Linked DNA regions of Homo sapiens: region 1 is linked to region 2. Evidence: promoter capture Hi-C in 16 types of primary human blood cells and fetal thymus (Javierre and others, 2016). All regions are on one chromosome and are shown on one strand. The core of a region is centred on a gene start or on the middle of the fragment in contact, and the rest is flanking DNA. Distances in the headings are between cores, read along the strand shown. Region 1 has its middle 80 kb from the start of TMEM164. Region 2 holds the start of RTL9 (retrotransposon Gag like 9).

Region 1 (5,792 bases), core at 435-2,934, 440 kb before region 2:
CAGGCCCCCAGTTGTCCCAATATTCACAAATGCTAACTGTAGCTGGTCAAATAAATTTCTTTTATAAATGGAGAATCGAGGCCTTTTGAAGAAATATATGTGGAATTGAAATGTAGAAAGGTGCGCTCTGCCTTCCAGAAACAGAAAATAAAAAGATAGGAAAAGAAAAAAGCTATAGCTATTGACACCAAAGCCTGAGCAATTTATTTGCTGCAAATCCCATAATCACAAACATTTCAGAGCTGTAATTCTGCCTGATTACCCTGTGCTGTCAGGGGGGTGGAAAAACCCAGAAGATTAATGTTTTGTATGGCAATAAGGCGGCAGGCCTGCAACTCTGAGCTTATCGCCCATGAATCAGGAGCCGGGCTGAGAAGCTTCAGGAGACAGCAGCATTTTATAATGATTTTTTTATGGAAAGAATGCTGTCAAGCCCAGATTCATTAGTTTCTACCAACACTGGTTTCTTCAGCAGACAGTCAGGCCAAATCTCCCTGTGCACAACCCCCCTTCTCCAGTTTATTCTGTGGCATCAGAGTATCTGGGGCGGGTGGTATATGTACATAAGGGGCAGGGTTGGTTGAAAAGGGAGAAACCACTTCGAGTGTGAGCTTTAGCTTCTAACCTTCTGTTAAAAGGCTGGTGCTTCAGGAACTGCTGTAAAGCTACTAAAATGGGAAGCCAGCTTCAGATAGTTGTTTCTAGTTCTTTCATAAGGCACATTAGGAAAGGGTGGCCCATTTAAGACAAGGACTACTGTTCGGTTGACCTATCTGTTGACCCAAAGCATTTCCACTCTAGCACCCAGAATTTAAGTACAACCTTTATACATCTTCCTATTTAAATAGTAATACTATCCAAAATTTCAATGTAGAGCTATACTACATATAAGCTGTGTGACTCTGGAAAAGTTACTTAACCTCTCTGAGGCTCAAATTATCTATAAAATGGGGATAATAATATTTATCTAAGAAGACTGTCGTGAGGATAAAATGAGATGAAGTTATGCATGAAGAATGCCTGACACTCATTAAATAGCCTTCATTATTCAAGATATCATGGTTCAGAAATTAACTTCACCATTTACTAAACAAGTTACCTTGGGCAAGTTACCTAATTTCTCTAAATGTCAGTTTCCACATCTGTAAAATGAAGAGGAAAATCTTCATGACTCTATGAGGTAGGTACCATTAATCACAAGTTAATTACTTAGCACACAGCTTGGGCAACATGGCAAAACCTCATCTCTACAAAAAATACAAAAATTAGCTGGGTGTGGTGACATGCACCTGTAGTCCCAGCTACTCAGGAGGCTGAGGTAGGAGGATTGCTTAAGCCCAGGAGGTTGACACTGCAATGAGCCATGATCACACCACTGTGCTCCAGCCTGGGCAACAGAGTGAGACTCTGTCTCCAAAAAAAAAAAAAAAAAAAAGACACGGTGCCCAGCGTTGTAATCATTCAAGAAATGAGAGCAACTAGGAGCAGTAGTAGGAGTAGTAACAAGCAGAAGAGGAGGAGGAAGAGGAGAAAAAGAAGGAAGATAGAAATGTACATAAAATCTGCAGGAAGAAAGATTTAGACATAAGAATTTAGGGACATAAGTTTAGACATAAGAATTTAGGGACTCAATTTTTGTTTGTTTGTTTTATAGAGACAGGGTCTCTGTCACCCAGGCTGGAGTACAGTGGTGCAATCATGGCTCACTGCAGCCTCACACTCCTTGCCTCAAGCAATCCTCCCACCTCAGCCTCCCAAGCAGCTGTGACTACAGGCATGCACCACCACACCCGGCTGTTTTTTTTTTTTTTTTTTTATTTTTGTGGAGATGGGTTCTCACTATGTTGCCCAGACTGGTCTTGAACTCCTGGCCTCAAGTGATCCTTCCACCTCAGCCTCCCAAAGTGCTGGAATTAATGTCCTGAGCCACCTCACCCAAGACAGGGTCTTGCTATGTTGCCCAAGCTGGTCTCAAACTCCTGATCTCAAATGATCCTCCTATCTCAGCCTCTCAAGTAGCTAGGACTGCAGACACAAGCCACCACACTTGGCTGAATTTGTTTTTCAAAATAAAGTGTTTTGTTTTTTTTTTCTGAAAAAAAAATCATCTCCCCCACCCTCCACCAATCTCTCTCTCTCTCTCGCTCAAAATCTATGACTCCACACTCCTTAGTCGTGTAGGCTATCTGTCCTCTTCACATTTTGCCAGCATCATCTGCTGTCCCTTTCCCCAGTGCTACTGCTTAGACAGGAAGTCCCTTGAGTTCTCATGCCTGAACATGCAACAATATTTATACTATTCTTATTATACTACCATTTATAATATTATTTATCCTATTTATTGAGCACTTGCCATGTGCTAAGCACCTTACATGTGTTATCTACACCAGTCTACAGGCTCCATGGTGAGCAAGACCATCATTCTTATCTATTTACTTCTCTCCTCCCAGTGTCTAGCACAGTGCTTGGCACATGGCCGGCCCTGAATACATATTTTTGATGCGTGAATGAATCTAATCCTCACTACAATTCTATGAGATAGGTGTAACTATTGTTTCCATTTTACAGAAAAGAAACCAAGGCTCAGATACATTAAGTCATAAAATTTGTAAGTTTGAGCCTCAGACACCAGCATGTCTGACACCGTAGGCTCAGCTTGGAGCCCTTCCCTTGTCCACCTTACTTTCCCTAATACATACCATTACTTCTCATGCCTTCAGTCCTCTGCACATGTTGCCTGGAATGTCCTTTTCTCTGTGTCCATCTGATAAATTCATCCTTCAAAACTACTCTACTTTTTGTATTATTCTTAAAAATATTTATGGTGGCTTTCAAAATGCATAAAATGGGAAGAAAAAATACAAAATCATGGCAAAAAATACTCAGGGTAAGGAAAAGGAACAAAAATCCAGGGGAAGGACAAGATTCACCTAGAAAAATGCCTGCCAAAAGATTCTTCCAATGCTAGAGACGTAGACCACAAATATATTTCTAAGCTTTCCGGCAGCCAATGCAAAGATAGAAATCTGATTAGTTACAGGATTCACAGCATCCATAAGTTTAAAAAATACCCTCCCCACTTTAAGAGCTCAGGGTTTTTTTTTCCTGATATTTGAGAGAAATATCTTCAGAAGATTCCCAGAAAAGAGGGTACCATAAGATGTAGTAGATGGCAATCTTTACAACAGTCTTACAATGAATTTGATAGCAAATTGCTTTTTAAAATATCTTTCATTGCAGGCTAGAGTGAGCTGTGATCATGCCACCGCACTCCATCCTGGGCAATGGGAGTGAGACCCCATCTGAAAAACAAAAACAAAAACAAAAAAAAATGAAAAAAAAAAACAAAGGCCCTCAATAGGGCCCTTCTTTGTTCCCGTAATGCCTTATCCTTCCTTCTATCAGGCTCTGCATTGTAGTTCTTATATATCTGTATTCTGTCAGACTGAGAGCTTTTTGAGGACAGGTAGCATACCTTGACTATCCCTGATATCCCTTGTGCCTCAATTCCCTTATCTATAAAATGGAGACGATAATGGCACTTACTGCCTTGGGTTGTTAAGATGAGTAAATGAGTTAATGTGGGAAAAATGCTTGGGACAGTACCTAGTGCATGGTGATGACACAGTAAGTATTAGAATTATTTTATCTTCAGCAAATACAATGTCTGGCATCAGGCATTCAATCAATAGGTACTAGATGAATGCATACATAGATCAATGCATAAGCCTATGATGGAAGCTGGTGAACTCTCTTTTCCTAGAGAGCACTTAAACTATGGAAGAAAACCATTAGTGACCATTACTGTTAATTTGTTTTTTGTCTTTTGCTTTTTTTTTTGAGATGGAATGTCTCACTCTGTCACCCACGCTGGAGTGCAGTGATGTGATCTCGGCTCCCTGCAACCTCTGCCTCCCGGGTTCAAGAGATTCTCCTGCCTCAGCCTCCCGAGTAGCTGGGATTACAGGTATGTACCACCACGCCCAGCTAATTTTTGTATTTTTAGTAGAGATTGGGTTTCGCCATGTTGACCAGGCTGGTCTCAAACTCCTGACCTCAAGTGATCCGCCCCCTTCGGCCTCCCAAATGCTGGGATTACAGGCATGAGCCACTATGCCTGGCCCCCATTAGCGTTAATTTGCTTAACCCCCTTAAGCCTTTACTCAAAGATAACTTTTCGGTGAGGCTTTCTCCAACCCCAGTACCTCAAAACATTTCCTATATCTCCTTCCCTGCTTTATATTTTGCCTTGGCCCTTGACCCTATCTAAGATACTACAAGTTTAATTATTTATCATGTTTATTCCTGCCTTTCCAATTAAAATGTAAGCTTCCAAAAGCCAGGGATTTTGTTTGTTTCTGGAGAAAGACCTGGTAAATAGTAGATTATCAATAAAATTGATTGAATTGAATGCATAATCATATGGAAACAGGGCAGGGCAGTGCAGGGACTAGGATAGGGCAAGCTCTCAGGGTAGTGTGCTGAGCCTACATTTGCATGGTCTCAGAGTAAATGCCTCCTTAAAATTTGCAGCCGAGGCACCTCCTTGCTCACCCCAGTCCCAGCCCTGAAGCAGGGAATAGACCAGATCACCTAGTGAGATCTGTCTACTCCCAGGCAGTGGCATGCTGGTAGATGTTTATCAACCAGCTCTTTTAGGTTGGTAAGGTGGGGGAAGCCTTGATTTGTAATGTTTGCCAATATTCCCATCATGGCCAATTTCAAGCTATCAACAGAATGTTTATGAACAGAGTTGGGAAGAGATGTGCCCAGTGGGCTCTTGTGAGCTGGTACAAGTTGGCTCTAGCGCACCACTGAACAGGATTCTTTTTTTAAAAAAAAATAATTACCTTGTTTTTATTAATCTTTCTTAAATGTGTATATAGCTCACATTTATTTCAGGGTTTACCACTAGAAGTGTTTTGGTCTTTATTTAGAAGTTTGGCAATGTTTTGTGACCACAAATATGCTATAGAAACTTAAGTTGGTTTCATTATACATTGTTTCACATAAAGTTTCCAAGAACCTATCGAGGCTGTTAGTGAGGACTTACTGTACATCTTGACATGGGAGAATTGGGCATTAGGCATGAGCATGTGCCACTGCAGCAGGTGGTGGGCCGCTTAGGAGTCTGGATTACCAATTTCATCTGAACTCTTGGGCAGTCTTGAACTTTTGCTAAATGCAACCAGGGCCAGCATAAAAAACAAAAACTGCAAAGAGGAATTAAGAATAATGAGGGGATTAGCATTACCCATTTTCACCACTAAAATATATCCCAGAAGCGCATTATTCTGAATGGAGGGCAAGTAGTATCACTTTCAGGTTATGAGGGATAACAGAAAGGAAACTTCTGTTTTCCAAGGACTATGTGCCAATCCCTCTGCCAAGCACATACTCCTATAAAGTAGGTACTTCTACAATCCCCATTTTAAACAGATGAGGAAACTGAAGCCTAAATACAATAGATAATTTGCCCAAGATCACACATGCAGCAATGGCAAACCAGGATTCAAGTGGAAGCATATTTGATTCCAAGGCCCATGTACTTTTTCTTACATAGCATCATACTGTGCTATGGCATGAATATGGTGACATCTCCACAGGTATGGATTGAGAAACTTCTGTAGGCCCAGACATGTGTCACAGGCTGTATTTCATGAATTCCCTTCTCTGCATCTGGCCAAACCTGCACTTGTTCCAGAAGACAGGGGAAGTGGCTGTCTTATTCACCTCTCTATGCTCAGTGACCAGCATGGTGCCTGGTGGACAGAAGGCATTCAATAAATAGT
Region 2 (5,675 bases), core at 1,398-3,897:
GGAGTGCAGTGGCAGCATCTCGGCTCACTGCAACCTTCACCTCCTGGGTTCAAGTGAGTCTTCTGCCACAGCCTCCAGAGTAGATGGGATTACAGGCATGTACCTCCACACCCAGCTGATTTTTGTGTTTTTTTAGTGGAGACGGGGTTTCACCATGTTGGCCAGGCTGGTCTCAAACTCCTGACCTTAGGTGATCCACCTGCCTCGGCCTCCCAAAGTGCTGGGATTACAAGTGTGAGCCACCACACTGGCCAACTAGAGGAATAACTTTTAGTGATGTATTGCACTACATGGTAACCACAGTTAATAATAATATATTGTGTATTTCAAAATTGGTAAAAGAATAGCTTTTTAATGTTCTTACCACAAAATAATGATAAATTAGCGAGGTGATAGATATGTTCATTAGCTTGATTGAATCTTTCTATAATATACACATAGATCAAAACATCACATTGTACCATATATATATATACACACCTTATCATTTGTCAATTAAAAATAGTTTTGAAAGGAAAAAATAATAATATTTTGTAAGTATTATCATATTTAATGTCCACATCCCTTATGACATATAATATTATTATCCTCATTTTACAGATGAGATAACTAAAGCTCAGAGAAGTGCAGTTACTTGCCTGAGGTTGCATAGTTAGCAAGAGAGCAGAAGGAAAATGGAATCACTTCTCCCTGATTTTCAAGTCTGTGTACCTAACTACTACATTACAAATTTTGCATTCTTATATTAAAATATTGAAATGAGTAGCTCAATGAATTTAGCATCTATTTTTAAGCATTTTGAGAATTACTTTTCAAAATTCTTCATTTCTTTCTTCTTTCTTCAAACTAATTCATTAGTTTGAATTTTGCAAATAGAAAAATGAGAACTGAGTATGTATACATTAGCTTAGATCTATTAGTATAGATCACACATATACATGAAATTTAACACTCTATTTTTGAAAGATTTAAATGAAAATTTAATAACATTTTTAGATAAATACATGGGAAAATCAAATATTTGGTGGTCCTCCAAAGTAACGTAGGTGTATCTAATATGTTTCACAGCAAGTGTTGAGTGATAGATATACATAAAATCAGAAAAGAAAAAGTAACCACTTCATAAATCTTATAAATTGTGCCTTTTTACACTTTTTACTTTTTTAAAAGTATTTCAGCTTTTAATTTATTTGATTAGAACCATTTGAGAGACTGTTTCCTTGATATGAAATGCAAGCACACTCATTAGTGATCATGGTCAAGACCAAATGGCCAGTTTCTGCCAGCAAACGATTAACTTTGATGACAGATGTGTAAACCAAAAATAATTAAATTATTTGGTAATCATTCTTCCTTGCTGTAGGCTTTAAATAGTATTAGATCTTTGGGCATGAAATATATTTAATCCAGTTGTTAGATATAGTTACATTTTCAAAGCTGGATGAATCTTGTATTCTCACTGAGTACAGTTCTCCAACTGATGTGTCAAGGATGATGCTTGTATAACTATAGGAGGGAAATCCTCTGTGATTAATGCATGCAGGAGAAAATACTATGCTCTTCCCTGTGGGTGCAGGGCATGTTTCTACATACCCACATTGTGTGGGAAGCAGAGTGGTTATACTTGCCCTTCTTGGATTTTTTCTCAAGGCAAGACCCTGGCCTCATCCTCCAAATGCATGTTCCAGTCCCTCTCTCACATCAGGGGTGTTTACGAGACTGACTTGGATAACTTTTGCAAAATATACTTGCCTGGCCCTCTGTCTCCCCATTGGACATTTGTTTCATGAGGAGTATCATTTCTAGGGTAAAAGCAAGGATTTTGAAAAAAAATTCTTTGCCATTTTATCAGAAGAATTATATTTAATGAAATTAAAAATAAAAATAGGTGATTTTGATGTTCACCCTAGGCTAAGAGGACCACTGCTGTCTTTGAGGCATTTACAGACATATGGAAATCTGAAGCATACTTAGAGTTGCGGGTTCTTTCTCTGTAATTCTTTTAAACTGGGCATAAACCTCAAAGGGAGTGTAAAATGCAGAGTGTTGTCAACTTATCACACCAAGAATATTTTTTTGCACCTTTTTAGTTTGGAAGGGTCAAATTGAGATGACAGAGGAATAGTGGATAAGAGCTATAGTGCTATTAAATTACATTCTAGAGTTGGGAAAATCGAGACCCATAATCCTAGGAATTATTAATGATAAGAGCTAACACTTTCTGAGTGCTTACCACATGCCAGGCCCTATACTGAATGCATCATGTCCATTTTCTCATTTGATCCTGACAACCACCTGTGAGGCCTCATTTTGAAGACAAGCAAGCTGAGGCTCAGACCTTGGATTTGTCCAAGGTCACTCAGTTGGTCATTTACAGAGCCCTGATTCAAACTCTCTTTTGCTTGATTACAAAGCCATTGCTCTAAAAGATTAGATTATACTGTCTGTATTTGCTTCTGGGAGCTTATGGAATTCACTCCTATCTGTTCTCACAAGGAACTCTATTGGGTTTTGAAAAAGGCTAAAGAATTGAAAAGAAACTTTGTAGGCTGGGAAACATAGTGTCCTTTGAGCAGTGAGATAGGCTAAGCTCAGAGGACTGGGCTCTGGAATGTGGAAAGGAGACGTGCCCACTGGAGAGCAAGTCAGAACTTTCGTGAGCCCTGCTCCAGGTCCCAGGAGAAAGTGCCAGCCATGAGGACTGGAGTATTGCCTGGTAAGGAGAAGATTATTATTTTATCTAACACGTTCTTCTATAACGCTCTATATGCTAGGCACTGGTCTGCACTGCTCTAAGTACTTTATAAGTATTAACTCCTTTACATCTTATAACACTTCCCTGGAAATAGGCATTATTATTGCCCCCATAATACATATGAGTAAACTGAAGTTCAGAGATGTTAAATAACTTGTTCAAGGTCACATAGCTGGTTAAGTGCCAGAGCCAGGCTTTGAACCTAGGCAGTCTGGATCTAGTGGCTGTGTTATACTGCTTCGCAACAGAAACTTGATTTTTCTTTCTTCTGTGTTTATCATCCTTTCTCAATCACTCCTGGGCAAGTCTACTTTGCTAGCAAATTTCCCTTACCCCTTTGGCTTTTTTTTCACCCATGAACCCTCTAATGTTTTCTGCAGCTTCTTTGAGCTCATTCTTTATCTTCCACACTGCCTCTTTTGGCATTACTCATGAACGACATGCTCTTTTCATCTGCCAAATATTTTTTCCATAAATTATCCCATCTCAACTTGGGAAGTCACAATGGGAAGTATTGTTCCTATTTTGTGAATGAGGCAACTAAGGCAAGCAACTTTCCTGAAGTCTCACACAACCATCTAGTGGCAAAGTGCACTAGAATCCAGATTCTCTGATTCTGAATCTAATGTTCTTGTCCATTGCACCATCTGATGGAATTTAACTATCTATTCATTAATTAATTTATTCATTAATATTGTAAAAATATACTGAGTGTCTTACTGTATGGTAAGGCCCTGGGTGCAAAAGTCGGTATAAAAATTGTTGCTCTTAAGCAACAGACAACACAGAGAGATAAGGTCTCACCATAAAAAGTTAAATAGCAGCACATATACTAAGTGCCAAATGAGTGGTCTGGTCACATCATACAAGAATTTTGAGGTTGGATATGTAGCATCAAAGACTGCTTTATCAGAAAGGTGAGACTTGAACTTGGCATAGAAGGGTACTTAGAACTTAGAGAAGAGAATGGAGCAGCACTTTCCAAACTCTGGGAATGGTGTGCATTAAAGCAGTCCTTCACAACCTTTATTGTGTCATGGCATGCAGAGAAAAGCATAGTATTTGTAAAGCACACTAGGCTGAATGGAGGAAGCAGTTTGACATCTAGAGGCAAGCATTCTAGGAGTTTCAACAGCACTGTCTCTGGGCTCAGTTGAGGACAGAGAAGAAATCTCATAGCCTCAGACACTTGTAATATGTTTGGGAAGGTCTGCACTAGGTATTGGGGGCACACTGTGGTCATGGTGGGTCTAAAGACCACTGACAAGCCCACAGGGATGAAATGAGGGGAATTTCCAGAGAAGCCATAGTAGATACCATTGGAAAGAAAAGTTATGGGCAAATGATGAAGGGCTTTTGAATTTTATTCTGTGGACCTACAGAATAGGTAGGCAAAATATGCATAGCACTGTTTTAGAAAGATTCCACTGGTTTTCATATGGGAGATTAACTAGAGGGAAGAAGAGTAGTCAAGAGGCTATTACCATTGTCCAGGTGGGAGGTGATGTTATCTTGAACTAGATTGATAGTAATAGAGACAGAGAATGGTGGACAGAATTGAGTTATATTTTGGAGGTAAAAATGTCAGGGTTTGGTAATAGAATTGCATAATGGAGAGTAGAAGAAAGGGAGGTGACAAGGAGGATTTCAAATTTTCAAGTTTAAGCAAATGCTTATGAATAGTGATGCCATTCTTTAAGATAGAGAGCCCAGGAGAAGTAGAAAGATTTTTTTGGAGGGGAAGGACAAATGAGATGATGAGTTTCAAGTTGACATTTGGAGGCAAGGAAACCAGTTAGGAGGCTATTGTAAAAGCCAAGTAAGACAAGGTGAGATCCTGGACTACAATGGTAGCAGTGGGAATGGAAGGAAAATGGTGAATTGAGAGACATTATACAGGAAGAATTGATAGGATTTTGTCACGGACTGACTTCTGGAGTTGAAAGGTAGAGGAAGGCTTGAAGCCTAAGATATCTTCTGTCCTTTATCTTCTTAGTGATGCTCCGATCTTCGTGGCTTAATATACTATCTATTTGCTGATGAGTCACAAATTTGTATCTCCATACTTTTATGCCCAATTGCCTGCTGGACATATCAACTTGCATGCCTAATAGGTATCTCCAACTTACCATGTTCAAAACTGCCCCTGCCCACAACCCCCAACAAAACCTGCTGCACTCACAAAACCTGCTCCTCACAGTCTTCCCCGTCTCCCTAAATACCAATTTCATTCTTCCGGTTGCTCAGGCGGAAGACCTAGGAATCAATCTTGATTTTTCCCTCTTTCATATCCTACATTTATTTGATCAGCAAATCTTATTGGTTCTACCTTCAGAATATATCTAGAATCTGACCACTTTTTCATTGCTACTATCCTGGTTTATGTCACAATGATCTGCTTCCTGGATTATATTGCACTAGCCTCTCAACTGTTCTCCTTGCTTCTGTTCTTGCCACCATCACTCAAGCCTATTATTCTCTCACTGTTTTTTGGAACCAGGATAATTTTATTATGTGAATGTCAGATCATGTCACTCCTCTGCTCAAAACTCCTCCAATGGCTTCCCATCTGACACTCAGTAACAACAAAACCCCTTATAATGGCCCATAATGCTGTATGCAACCCAGATATTGACATACTCCTGTCCTTCAGGTGATGGATCAAATATCCCACTTGGTAAAATCTTCTCTGATTACCATATTTAGTATTGCAAGCGCCTTCTCGCCATTCTCTATCTGCCTTCCATGTTTTATTTCTTTATACTTTGAATACTAGCAGATGTTATATGTTTATCTATTTATTTGTTTATCATCTATCTCCTTCTGCTAGAACAGGAGCTGGAAAACTTTTTCTGTAAAGGTCCAGATAATAAATATTTTAGGCTTTGTGAGCCACGTAATCTTTAACACAACTACCTAC

What was found. The method cuts DNA at HindIII sites, captures the fragments that hold promoters and counts their contacts. A CHiCAGO score of 5 or more calls a contact.
Region 1: a fragment that was not itself captured here is called in contact with the fragment with the promoter of RTL9 in region 2 in 1 of 17 cell types (M2 macrophages); the score reaches 5.0 in M2 macrophages.

The regions. Positions count from the first base shown.
Region 1 is chrX:109,920,203-109,925,994 of GRCh38, forward strand. No RefSeq gene overlaps it. Among named protein-coding and RNA genes, the nearest start is that of TMEM164, 80 kb to the right of the region's middle. The HindIII fragment of the contact is 2,619 bases long and covers 376-2,994 here.
Region 2 is chrX:110,356,201-110,361,875 of GRCh38, forward strand. RTL9 (retrotransposon Gag like 9) reads left to right here and starts at 2,648. Exons shown (of 4, transcript NM_001385449.1): 1 at 2,648-2,716. It also overlaps a transcript of AMMECR1 not described here. The HindIII fragment of the contact is 7,244 bases long and covers 1-5,675 here.